Linked DNA regions of Homo sapiens: region 1 is linked to region 2. Evidence: promoter capture Hi-C in 16 types of primary human blood cells and fetal thymus (Javierre and others, 2016). All regions are on one chromosome and are shown on one strand. The core of a region is centred on a gene start or on the middle of the fragment in contact, and the rest is flanking DNA. Distances in the headings are between cores, read along the strand shown.

Region 1 (5,186 bases), core at 561-3,060, 550 kb after region 2:
ATCCTTTCCCATTACTTTCCCATTTCTCTCAGTTGCAAATCCAAACCATTTTCACATTTCAAGACTTAATTCCTATTCCCCCATCTTTCAAACTTGTCTCCTATGTTACTGTGGAAACTGAGGCCATCAGACTTGAATTCTATGAACTCTCTCCTGCCAGATCTACAAATTTATCCCCATGTTCACCCATCCTTCTAACATTCTCTTAGAAGATAAGGTCTCATCTCCTTCTGGCCCAAATCAAATTCTCTACCTGTGTTTTTGGTTCTGTCCTCTCCCATCTCTGCAAGGACCTTGAACCATTAATTTTCCTTTCTGCCTCTTGTATTGTGTTAGATTTGCCAAATATATTGCTCCCATACCCACAATTTCTTATGAGGGGAGGTGATGTTCCCATGATCTCTGCAAAGGAATAGCCATGTTTCGCACTATGCAAACTTCTCTGTACTACATGATTGGACCAAGTGGGCACCTATGTCAAAGGGCATCCAATTTACAGAGTGCCCAGATAATTCAGACATGGTCTGGCATGAAATGAGGAGCACGGCCTGTGACCTTTTTAAATTTTTTCAAAGGCTGCTTAGTGCTCTAAGAACAAGATATCCATTTTAAGTGAAATGAGTGGATTTTTATTATTAGAAAAGTTATGAAATGATCTTTGATGCATGTGTTGCCTGTGAAAGTCATTCACTTTAATGTTCAGTGGGAGTAAGTGTAATCCATGTAATTGCTAGAAAGCTAGGCATCTTAGCACAGGAATAATCACACTGAACATTAGTAATGATAAAAATATCATTTATAGCGGCCTATCATATGGATTTTAAATACATCATCTCTGTCATGATAATCCCATGATATAGGTTCTAATATTACCAATTTTCAGATAAAAAAAAAAAACTAAGGCCCAGAGAACTTGGGTCACTCAATTAATAAGCAGCAGAGCTAATTAGAGTCTGGGTCCAAAGCTTAAGCACTCTTCGTCTTCTTTATATTTGGCTTTTTCCTAGCCAAAAACATGGAGGCATTGCTTACTTTTACTTTATCATTGTTATCTTGGCATAACATCAAAATAATTAGGAGCTGATATACCTAAGTGTATAAAACAGGATAAAATTAATTGATGAGGAATTAGATAAGGAAAATAAAATCAAACTAGGGGCAAATTTCATGTATAAAAATGTGTACTGTGCCATACATTTTGTAAGTGGAGTCTCTAAAGATTGCTTCATAAGGAAGAAGTGAATAATGACTTTGGGAACACTTGGTAACCCCTAGGACTCAAAAGATTGGGTGTGAGAAGTTATTAGTAAGCATATGTATTAGGCAAAATACAGTGAGATGAACCTGGAACAAATGCTCGCTGAATGCACTTAGAAATATTATCAGGCGACTCAGCCTATAGAGCATACGGGTTAGAATGTCTATTTTAAGAAGGAGCGGATATTTACTAAATGCTAATTTGAGCAAAGTTCTACAAAAATATCACTGACCATGAATATTCAGGCATTGACATGCTACAAAATAGCATATCGAAAAGAACATCTGTTGCCCTAAAGATGGTTTCCTGCACAGAACGTCTCCAAATTTTCAGCATTCATAGGCTGGCCCCGTTTCTTCTTGGTTAACATTTAGAGGCACGCCTAAACTTAGAGGAACACCTCTCTAAACCAAGGAGACACTTAAAGAGAAAAGGAGTAAAGATGGTGATGGGCTTATAAAGAGCAATGTAATAGTGTCTTTGAAGCAAAAGCTAACTTAATGAAAACGTGGTCCCAATTTCCTTAAATCTGGATCACCGTACGACTTCTGTAATACTTATTATTTCCCCAGCTGGCAAATAAACTGGAGTTCAAGTGGGAAAAAACAAGGTATTGTTCAGACTTATGATTTTTGGGGTCAAAGATTCTGAGCAATAACCTATTAAAAAACCCAGCTTTTGATTTGAGTATGTAAGTAAGTACATGGGAGGAACGTATGGATCTGGAGTGGTGGTAAATACAGAGCATGTTTGCTTCGCAAAGCAGATTAGCTCATACTTAATAATAGAGTAAATCTGTTGGGCCATGACTCAATGCACCCAAATTCTCTAGATTGCTATGTCTCTACTCGCTAAGCCTTCGGGAACAACAAGCACAGAACTTTTAGGGTGCTGTCTCACTGATGTCGGCGTTAGCTCTGGTAGTCCAGGTCAAGATTATACCAAAGATTCAGGACTTAAATTCCTGCAGAATGTAAGCCCCTTTCCAAGTTCTCTGCTTTACTGTATCCTGTTTATTTTCAAACTCAAATGGAAAAAAACGAAACAAAAACCTTGGGCTTCAAGAGGCATCCTGCCGCAAGGCCCAGCGATGTGAATTTTCAACAACCGTCTCAGGCAGATTTCATGCTGATGGTTCAGGCACTAAACTTTGAAAAACACAGTATCACAGAGTAGGGATGGTGATGTAAGAGTCATCTGTAAAAGCTGTGCTGTTTTGGCAGCCTGGGAGGCTAAGGTTTAGTCTAGGCGACTAAGGTTTAGTCCGGGCTGTATTCACACCCAAAACAACTAAAAAAGCGGAGGAGTCTTTGAGTCAATCCCTGAAGCTCCGGCTAAGAGGAAACTCGCCCACGCTCCAGGGCAGCGACGCCGGCTCCACCTCAGCCACGGCTGTCTCAAGCTTCTCGGGGTTTTCCGCCGGCTCCACCCGAGCCACAAGTCTACAGGACTCCTCGGAGCTTTCCGCCGGGACGCAAGACCCACCGCCAGAGGTTGGTACCTCCTAGAGAACAGCGAAGCGCATCCCGAGGGCCGCCGGCCGGAAGCGCCCTCCAGACCCGCCCCCTGCCCTCCGGAGCCGGAAGCTGGGCATCTGCAGCTGGCTCGGCGCACTCCACTGACCGTCCCGACGATGCTACGCGCGCCCGGCTGCCTCCTCCGGACCTCCGTAGCGCCTGCCGCGGCCCTGGCTGCGGCGCTGCTCTCGTCGCTTGCGCGCTGCTCTCTTCTAGAGCCGAGGGACCCGGTGGCCTCGTCGCTCAGCCCCTATTTCGGCACCAAGACTCGCTACGAGGATGTCAACCCCGTGCTATTGTCGGGCCCCGAGGCTCCGTGGCGGGACCCTGAGCTGCTGGAGGGGACCTGCACCCCGGTGCAGCTGGTCGCCCTCATTCGCCACGGCACCCGCTACCCCACGGTCAAACAGATCCGCAAGCTGAGGCAGCTGCACGGGTTGCTGCAGGCCCGCGGGTCCAGGGATGGCGGGGCTAGTAGTACCGGCAGCCGCGACCTGGGTGCAGCGCTGGCCGACTGGCCTTTGTGGTACGCGGACTGGATGGACGGGCAGCTAGTAGAGAAGGGACGGCAGGATATGCGACAGCTGGCGCTGCGTCTGGCCTCGCTCTTCCCGGCCCTTTTCAGCCGTGAGAACTACGGCCGCCTGCGGCTCATCACCAGTTCCAAGCACCGCTGCATGGATAGCAGCGCCGCCTTCCTGCAGGGGCTGTGGCAGCACTACCACCCTGGCTTGCCGCCGCCGGACGTCGCAGGTGACCCCCCGGGCGGCCCGTGTGCTGTCCCGGTCCTCCCACCCGCCCTGGATGCTCTCCCGCCTCCCCCAGACCCTGGGCTTTTCCGATGCCCCCCAGTTCTCTTTCCTCTTTTCCCAAGCCATCATCCCTCGGGCTACGTCCTCCCTGTCGAGGGATATTACAGACTTGGCTATCTCTTTTTCCCCTTACACGTATGTTCATTTATTAATTCATCAGGTGTAAATTCAGCACCTTGTACTCGCTGCCTGCTTTAGTAGAGTTGGGGATCCAACAGGAAAGGGGACAGACGAGGTCTCCCGCAATTTTTGCGCTCCCGTTCCCAAACTGAATTGCCCCTTCGAGCGCCAACCCATCCCTTCCCCCTTCCCTGGCGTCTAGTTTCACAATTGGGCGCACGTTTTAAAAAACAGAATCTAGAATTTTCTTCCTCGGGCTTTGCTTCCGATACTAGTTTTTCCTTCTTTCTTTTTTTTTTTTTTTAAACTCATCATCTTTTTCAGATGACAGTTTTAGACCTACACCCTGTTTTAGGAACCTGATCTCAAGCCTTTGTGTCCTCCTTTTTTCTTCTGTTTTGTTCATGTTTTTACTGTAGCGTTCCCATCGTTGTAGCTGTGGTCCGTGGTCACAAGCAGTAACAACTCATTTATTCCATTAATTACACTTTTTCGAAATTTGAGAAATCATCTAGTAAGGCCCCGTTATTTCACAGGTGAAGAACCCGAGCCCAAGAGTATGCCTTCTTAATTGTCTTTCTCTAAGGTCTAGTATCCAAGTCTTCTGTTTTCCTAGAATGGTTCTTTTTCTCTTAGAAAATGTTGTAATAGTTACAAATAATAATGATAGCATACACCTCATGCCTATTGTATGCCAGGTATGCCTCACATTTATTTTACAAAATCCTTACAACCACAATCTGGAGTTGATAGTATTTTCCCCTTATCTCAAAGATGAGGAAATTGATACACGAACACATTAAATAATTTGCCCATTTTCATACAGCTAGCTGTGGACCCAGGAAATCTGATTCAGAGCTTGCTTTCTTAGCCATTATGCTATACTGCCTCCATTTGTCCAATAACATACCTAATAAGAATAAAAACATGTAACATTTTTGTACCACAGAGATGAGCAAGCATTAATAGTTTCTTGATCACTTTTAAGGCCAGAATTGAAGTGAGGATTATTGTTTAGCTTCAAAGCCCAAGTGAAAAATTAGAAGTAGGCTGGTTTGTAATTTCTTCTGTAGCTGTTGAACAGTGAAACCATCTGTAAGGGATTTCTCCACTGATTCTGTGTCATGTTATTGTGGGTAATTCAGTTAGCTGACTTGTGTCTAATTACTTGTTGAACTGTGTTTTTTTTTAAATATATACTTTTTCCATTAGCATGAGTGAAAATTCCTCATAAATCTGTTAAATTAACAGAATGGTGAAAGCAGAACATATTTTAATATAACACAATATCTATAGCGACTTCCTGGAACAAGTGAATTTTTGTTCTCAGATGGCATTGCGAAGACTGGCATTTGACTCTCAGTACAGAGCCAGGGATGAAAATACTACAGTTCAGAATAAGCCCACTCCTGACCGTTTTCAGTGTCAGATAGCAAACCCTTTGCCTAGCCACTTTATTATTCTCTATAGACAATAGTT
Region 2 (5,187 bases), core at 2,584-5,083:
AGGGCCTGGAAGGCGTGTGCCCCAGGCACGCCTGGCCTGGTCCAGCCTGCCAGGAGTGACTGGGACTTTCCACCTCAAGCTCCTGGAAGTGGAAACTATGCCGCCCACCCTTCCTGCCCAGGAACTTTCTCCGCTGACCTGCCCAGACCCTGGGCTTCAGCACTGCTATTCTCTCTGCCCATGCTCCCCACCCTGGGCAGGCCCTCCCTTGGCACAGTACAGGCTGCTGGCCCAGAACCCTGGGAACATTCCTGACCTTTGCTTTGGCTTCCTCCAGCTCTTGGCAGCTTCTGGCTGGCCCTTGATGCCCATGCCCCCGGCCCAACTTGCTGAAGTGCCCATTTTTCCCTCTGCCCCTCCGTCTCAGGCTGGCTTCATCTTTGTGCCCTCCCTTGGGGAGTCCTGCTGGGTGCCCTCATCTCCCAGTGGCCAACCCAGAGTGGATGTGGGGCTCCTCTGGCCTGGTTTGGAGCTGCCCTTGGTCTGCTGTGGCCCCAACCTGCTGCTCCACCCAGATAGGAGGGTACGTGGACTCCTTTGGAGCTTTAAATGGAAGCTGGGCGGCCTGCGTTCTCCTCTCCTCCTCCTCCCTGAACCCACAGTGACCTTGGGCAAGGCCCTTCCCCCATCATCGAAATGCGAAGAAGCTGTGCCTCTGCGGCACACAGATCAGAGCTGGTGTGGGGGGAAGGGAGAGGGAGCCTGTGGGAGGGGGAGGGCGCATCCATTATGCAGATTGTGTGGAGTGCCTTCCCTTCCCCAGCCAGGAAACGCCCTCCCAGGGGCCCTCAAGTCTTCCTTGGGAAGGAAGGCGTGTTCTCAGCAGCCTTGTTTTCTGAGGCCCTGAAGCCAGCCATTAACTTGACCATTCCAGGGGAGAAACTCACAGGATTTTGTCCTTGAGTCAGAAAAGGGCCTTGGCAGAGAAGCCTGAGGCTCTCAGGGATCAGCCCAGAGCTAAGAACCCCTGAGCGTGGTTCTGGAAGCTTCAGCTCTGGCCAGTGGGGGTTCTTCCCTGTTCATACCAAGGGCTCTGTGCCCGGCAGGGGTCGGGGGTGGGGGTGAGGATGGGGGAGGAACAAGTGCAAAAGGTGCATCGTGGCCCAGAGAAGGCGGCCTGTGCTCTGCCCTGCTCCTGTGTGACCTCCAGTCATATGCTGGACTCCTCTGGGCCACAAGCTCCCAGCTGGGAAAATCTCAGTGCTCTTTGTGTAAGGGTCAGGAGAAGCCTGAGGCTGGTGACTGGGGCCAACCAGCCTGCTGGCAGCAGCATCCCCTACACGGCCACCCTCTTGGGGGGACAGGACAGCCTGGGTGGGCCTGGGCTCTCACTGTCACTTAGGAGCTCTGTGGCCCTGGGAGGCGTCCCCACCCCTCCAAGCTATCATAGCAATGTGATAGATGGGACACCTTGCCTGGGGCTCAGCACGGTCCCTACCGCAGACTGAGTTCCACTGGGACAGCAAATCCTGGGTCTGAGGCACCCACATTCTAGACATCCCCAAGCCAGGGCACAGAAACAGCCTCTTCCTCCCGGAGTCCTAATGCTCAGGCTGCTGGCTCCCTGGGCTGGGCCCCTCGGGGTCCCTGGCAACCTAAGAAGCAGTTAACCCCTTCGCTTCTCCACCTCAGGGAAGTCTGAGGACGTAGTGGTTCTATTCAAGCTTCTCCTTGCAAAGGGTCTTATTGGGGCCTGCATCCTGGGCCCAGCCTAGCCCTGGGGCTCTGGAAACAGATGTAAGTGGCAAAGGCAGGGCAGAATGCCTGGCCCTGGCAGCCGAGCCTCCTTGTGATGGTGTTGGTGTCACCACCCCTGCTAGCAGAACCCAGTCTGCCTCCCCTTCCCATGCTGCAGGGACAGGGTCTGGAGCACGCTTCCACCTCCCTGGTCACAGGAGCAAGGGAAGTAATCAGCCCAGGAAGCCGCGCGTTTCCTTCCTTTCTCACCAGCCCATCCGGGTTTGGTGAGAGAGCATGGACTTGCCCTGTGGAGACTGCAGCTTCTGGATGTGGGAAGGAGAGCCCTGCAGGCAGGGGGCTTCCAGGCTTGGGACACCTGGGCATTCCTGGGCCAGGTACATGCACCCTCCCACTCAGAACCCCAGAGAAGGACTGCGGGGCCCCTGCAGGGCTGCCCATCAGCAGTTCCCAAACCCTCACTCCTTGGGGCTAAGGGAGCAATGTCTCTCCCACAACCAAGGGGGTGGGGAGGAAGAGGAGCAGCTCCCTCCTCCCTCCCGTCCACCGGGTCCTCTCATCCTCCCTTTCATCAAAAGGCGGAAGGTGGCCTGAGACTAAGGCGTGGAGCTTCCTTGGTCCTGAAATCAGAGCGGAGTGGCTGGATCCAGCCCGCCCCTCCCCCGCCCCCTGCTCCCCTTGCCGCCCCACCACCGAGAATCACCTGCACCTCCCAGCCCTGAGCAGAGTTGGGGGCAGGCGGGAATGAGGTTTCTCCATGGCCAACTGCTCAGCCACTGTTCCCCACGCCACTGCCACCAGACCCTCACTAAGGGGCCTCTTGCCCCTCCCTGGTCAAATCTGTTTTCAGGAAAGCACCCAACAAACCTGCAACTCAGAAGCCAAATGAGACCTATCCCAGGCAGGTCCGCTCTGCGATGGTGGCTCTCATACACCGCACAGAAGTGTAAGTTGGCCCCCCCCTCACTCCCTAAATCCATGTAGATGCCCTTAGCCAAACAGGTCTGGTGTGTGGGGGCAGGAGGGTGGAGGTAGGAGCATCTGGGGGCTGGGGCTGGCTCCAAGTGCTGCAGAGAGTTCACTATGAGCTCTGAAGTCAAACTCAGATCCTGCTCCTTAGCTGTGTGGCCTTGGGCAAGCCCCTCAGCCTCTCTGAGCCTCAGGCTCCTCCTCTGTAAGTGGGGCTGTTGGAGGGATGAACTGAGATACACGTGGCAAGGTGCCTGGCCCTGAGACTGGGGGCCCCGTAAACAGCACCTGCTGCTCTGACTGAGGGGCAGTTGGAGATGAGGGGGGACTTACAGGCCCAACACCTCATCAGCAGGATGGGCCCTGGCTCTGTACACATAGAATGTTGGAAAGCTATGTTCTGGGTCCAGTTGCAAGACCATCCTGCCCACTTGCTGGGTCGCTGAGGCAGAGCGCCCTGGACTGTGCTCTGGAGAGCAGGGGGCCGTCTCTGCTCACTGCTGGGCAGTCAGAGTCAGGTCCCCAGGGAACTCAGATCAAAATCTCAGGGCAGCCTTGCTGGGTCTCAGCTTTCAGAATTGATTTCTTTGGAAGAACAGGAGGCATAGCCAGGCCAGCTGGCAATGGCTTCAGCCACAGTCCCCCAGTGCCCCATGCTGGGTGATTGATGGTAGGAGCTGTGCCTCCCTGCCAGCCCCCCAAGCCCCATTCCCTGCCATGGCTCCGACAGGGAACTCCCTGCAATTCTTAGGTGGATCCTGAAACACCCAGTCCAGACTACTTTTTCAGCCTCACAGATGGCCCAGAGATAGATACTATTAGCCCATTTCACAGATGGGACCCCAGTGAGGTCTAGAGAGGCTCTGCTCTAGCTGAGCTGGGACTCAGATCCTACTCCATGACCTCTGCCAAGGTCCAGGCCCTCTTACCGTCCTACGGGGTCCTTGCCGGTGTCCTCAGCCTCTGCCTTCCAGACCCCAGGTGTCCTGGAGCTCTGCAGATCAGAGAGGCTAGTACTGGAAGCCTGGGCCCATGCCCCCAGCAGCCCCCAGCCCAGGGGGCCCCCAAGGCTGAACAGCAAGCTCAGGATCATCTTGGTGGTGGGGCAGGCTCAGCTCACACTCAGCCTTGGCAAGTAGCTCCAGAAACTGCTAGTGACGTTGTCTTCAAGTTAAATCTCAGGAGGAAAAGAAAATACGAGGACAACAAAGAGAGGAAGTGGCCTGGGCCGGCCTACCCGGTGGGTCTTGTCCTGCCCCCCAACTACCCTGGCTGGCCCCACAGGGGCCGCCAACCACACAAGCCAGTTCCTGTCCCTGAGGACTTGGCTCAGGGACTCTGGGAATGTGGTAGACATGGGGTGGCCCCACCAAATGCATCCTTATGGGAACCTGCTCCCTGGGAGCCATGAAAAGAGCGTGGACTTCGAGGTGGGGCCACAGGAAGTGGTCAGGTCCATCTCAGGGGACCTGCTGCCCATCCACACTGCTGGCCAGGAAATGGGGGGCAATTCATGCCTCCTCAGCACCTTCAGCACTGGGCGGCTCAAAGAAGGGAAGGGACTATTCTGGGGTCACACAGCATGCAGCCAGAGGCCAAGGCATGAGGAAGTCCTTCATTTCCCCACCCCCACCCACCTCAGATCCTCCAACCGGTTTCATGGCAGCCCAGGGTCCAGCGGCATCCAGGATGCTGGTGGGTAGCTGCACAGCCCAGGCCGCGGGAGGTTGGCTGCTCTCACCTAACAGGCCTATGTGGCCCTGACCCCTACCTAGGAAGCTGGGGACAATGGCCAAGGCGCCTCCCCTCTCTGTGCCTGTCTGTCCAGGTGCAGCATAGACACAGCACCCCTGGGGCCAAGAGCACCCAGCCAGGGCTGCCCCCATGGGTGGGCAGGGCAGTAAATGAATGAGGGACAGGTTGGGAGGTGGCCAGCCCCCTCCAGCCCATGGAGGGCACGGGGCAGGAGAGCTGGGCTGAGCCAGCAGGAGCCCAGGGAGCCTGGTCTCTGCCTTCCTATCCTGGAGGAAGGTGAGGCTGAACCTCCTTCCCTCCCTCCCTCCCTCCCCGCCCCCACTGCACGCAGGGCTGGCTGGGCTCCAGCTGGCCTCCGCATCAATATTTCATCGGCGTCAATAGGAGGCATCGGGGACAGCCGCTGCGGCAGCACTCGAGCCAGCTCAAGCCCGCAGCTCGCAGGGAGATCCAGCTCCGTCCTGCCTGCAGCAGCACAACCCTGCACACCCACCATGGATGTCTTCAAGAAGGGCTTCTCCATCGCCAAGGAGGGCGTGGTGGGTGCGGTGGAAAAGACCAAGCAGGGGGTGACGGAAGCAGCTGAGAAGACCAAGGAGGGGGTCATGTATGTGGGTAAGTGGGGCATGGCAGGGTGGGACAGTGTGGTGGCCAAAGGGTGAGTGCCCAGTTACCTTCGCCAGACCTTACTCCCCAGCCCCAGGGAGGCATTTTGGGAGGGGGCGAGGCCCTGGCTATCAAGGTGGGGTCTCCAGACCCTGGAGC

The links. The method cuts DNA at HindIII sites, captures the fragments that hold promoters and counts their contacts. A CHiCAGO score of 5 or more calls a contact.
Region 1: a fragment that was not itself captured here is called in contact with the fragment with the promoter of MMRN2 in region 2 in 1 of 17 cell types (activated CD4 T cells); the score reaches 6.1 in activated CD4 T cells.

Annotation. Positions count from the first base shown.
Region 1 is chr10:87,502,025-87,507,210 of GRCh38, forward strand. MINPP1 (multiple inositol-polyphosphate phosphatase 1) reads left to right here and starts at 2,869. Exons shown (of 5, transcript NM_004897.5): 1 at 2,869-3,528. The coding sequence starts at 2,892. MIR4678 (microRNA 4678) reads left to right here and starts at 1,857; the gene lies at 1,857-1,930. It overlaps LOC112268064 (a long non-coding RNA gene), which reads right to left and starts at 2,810. Exons shown (of 2, transcript XR_002957094.2): 1 at 2,311-2,810. RefSeq lists enhancers at 2,839-2,928, 3,089-3,148. The HindIII fragment of the contact is 1,695 bases long and covers 964-2,658 here.
Region 2 is chr10:86,953,782-86,958,968 of GRCh38, forward strand. MMRN2 (multimerin 2) reads right to left here and starts at 3,834. Exons shown (of 7, transcript NM_024756.3): 1 at 3,597-3,834. The coding sequence starts at 3,760. SNCG (synuclein gamma) reads left to right here and starts at 4,818. Exons shown (of 5, transcript NM_003087.3): 1 at 4,818-5,037. The coding sequence starts at 4,917. RefSeq lists enhancers at 305-904, 551-845, 1,506-2,105, 5,108-5,187. The HindIII fragment of the contact is 12,184 bases long and covers 1,663-5,187 here.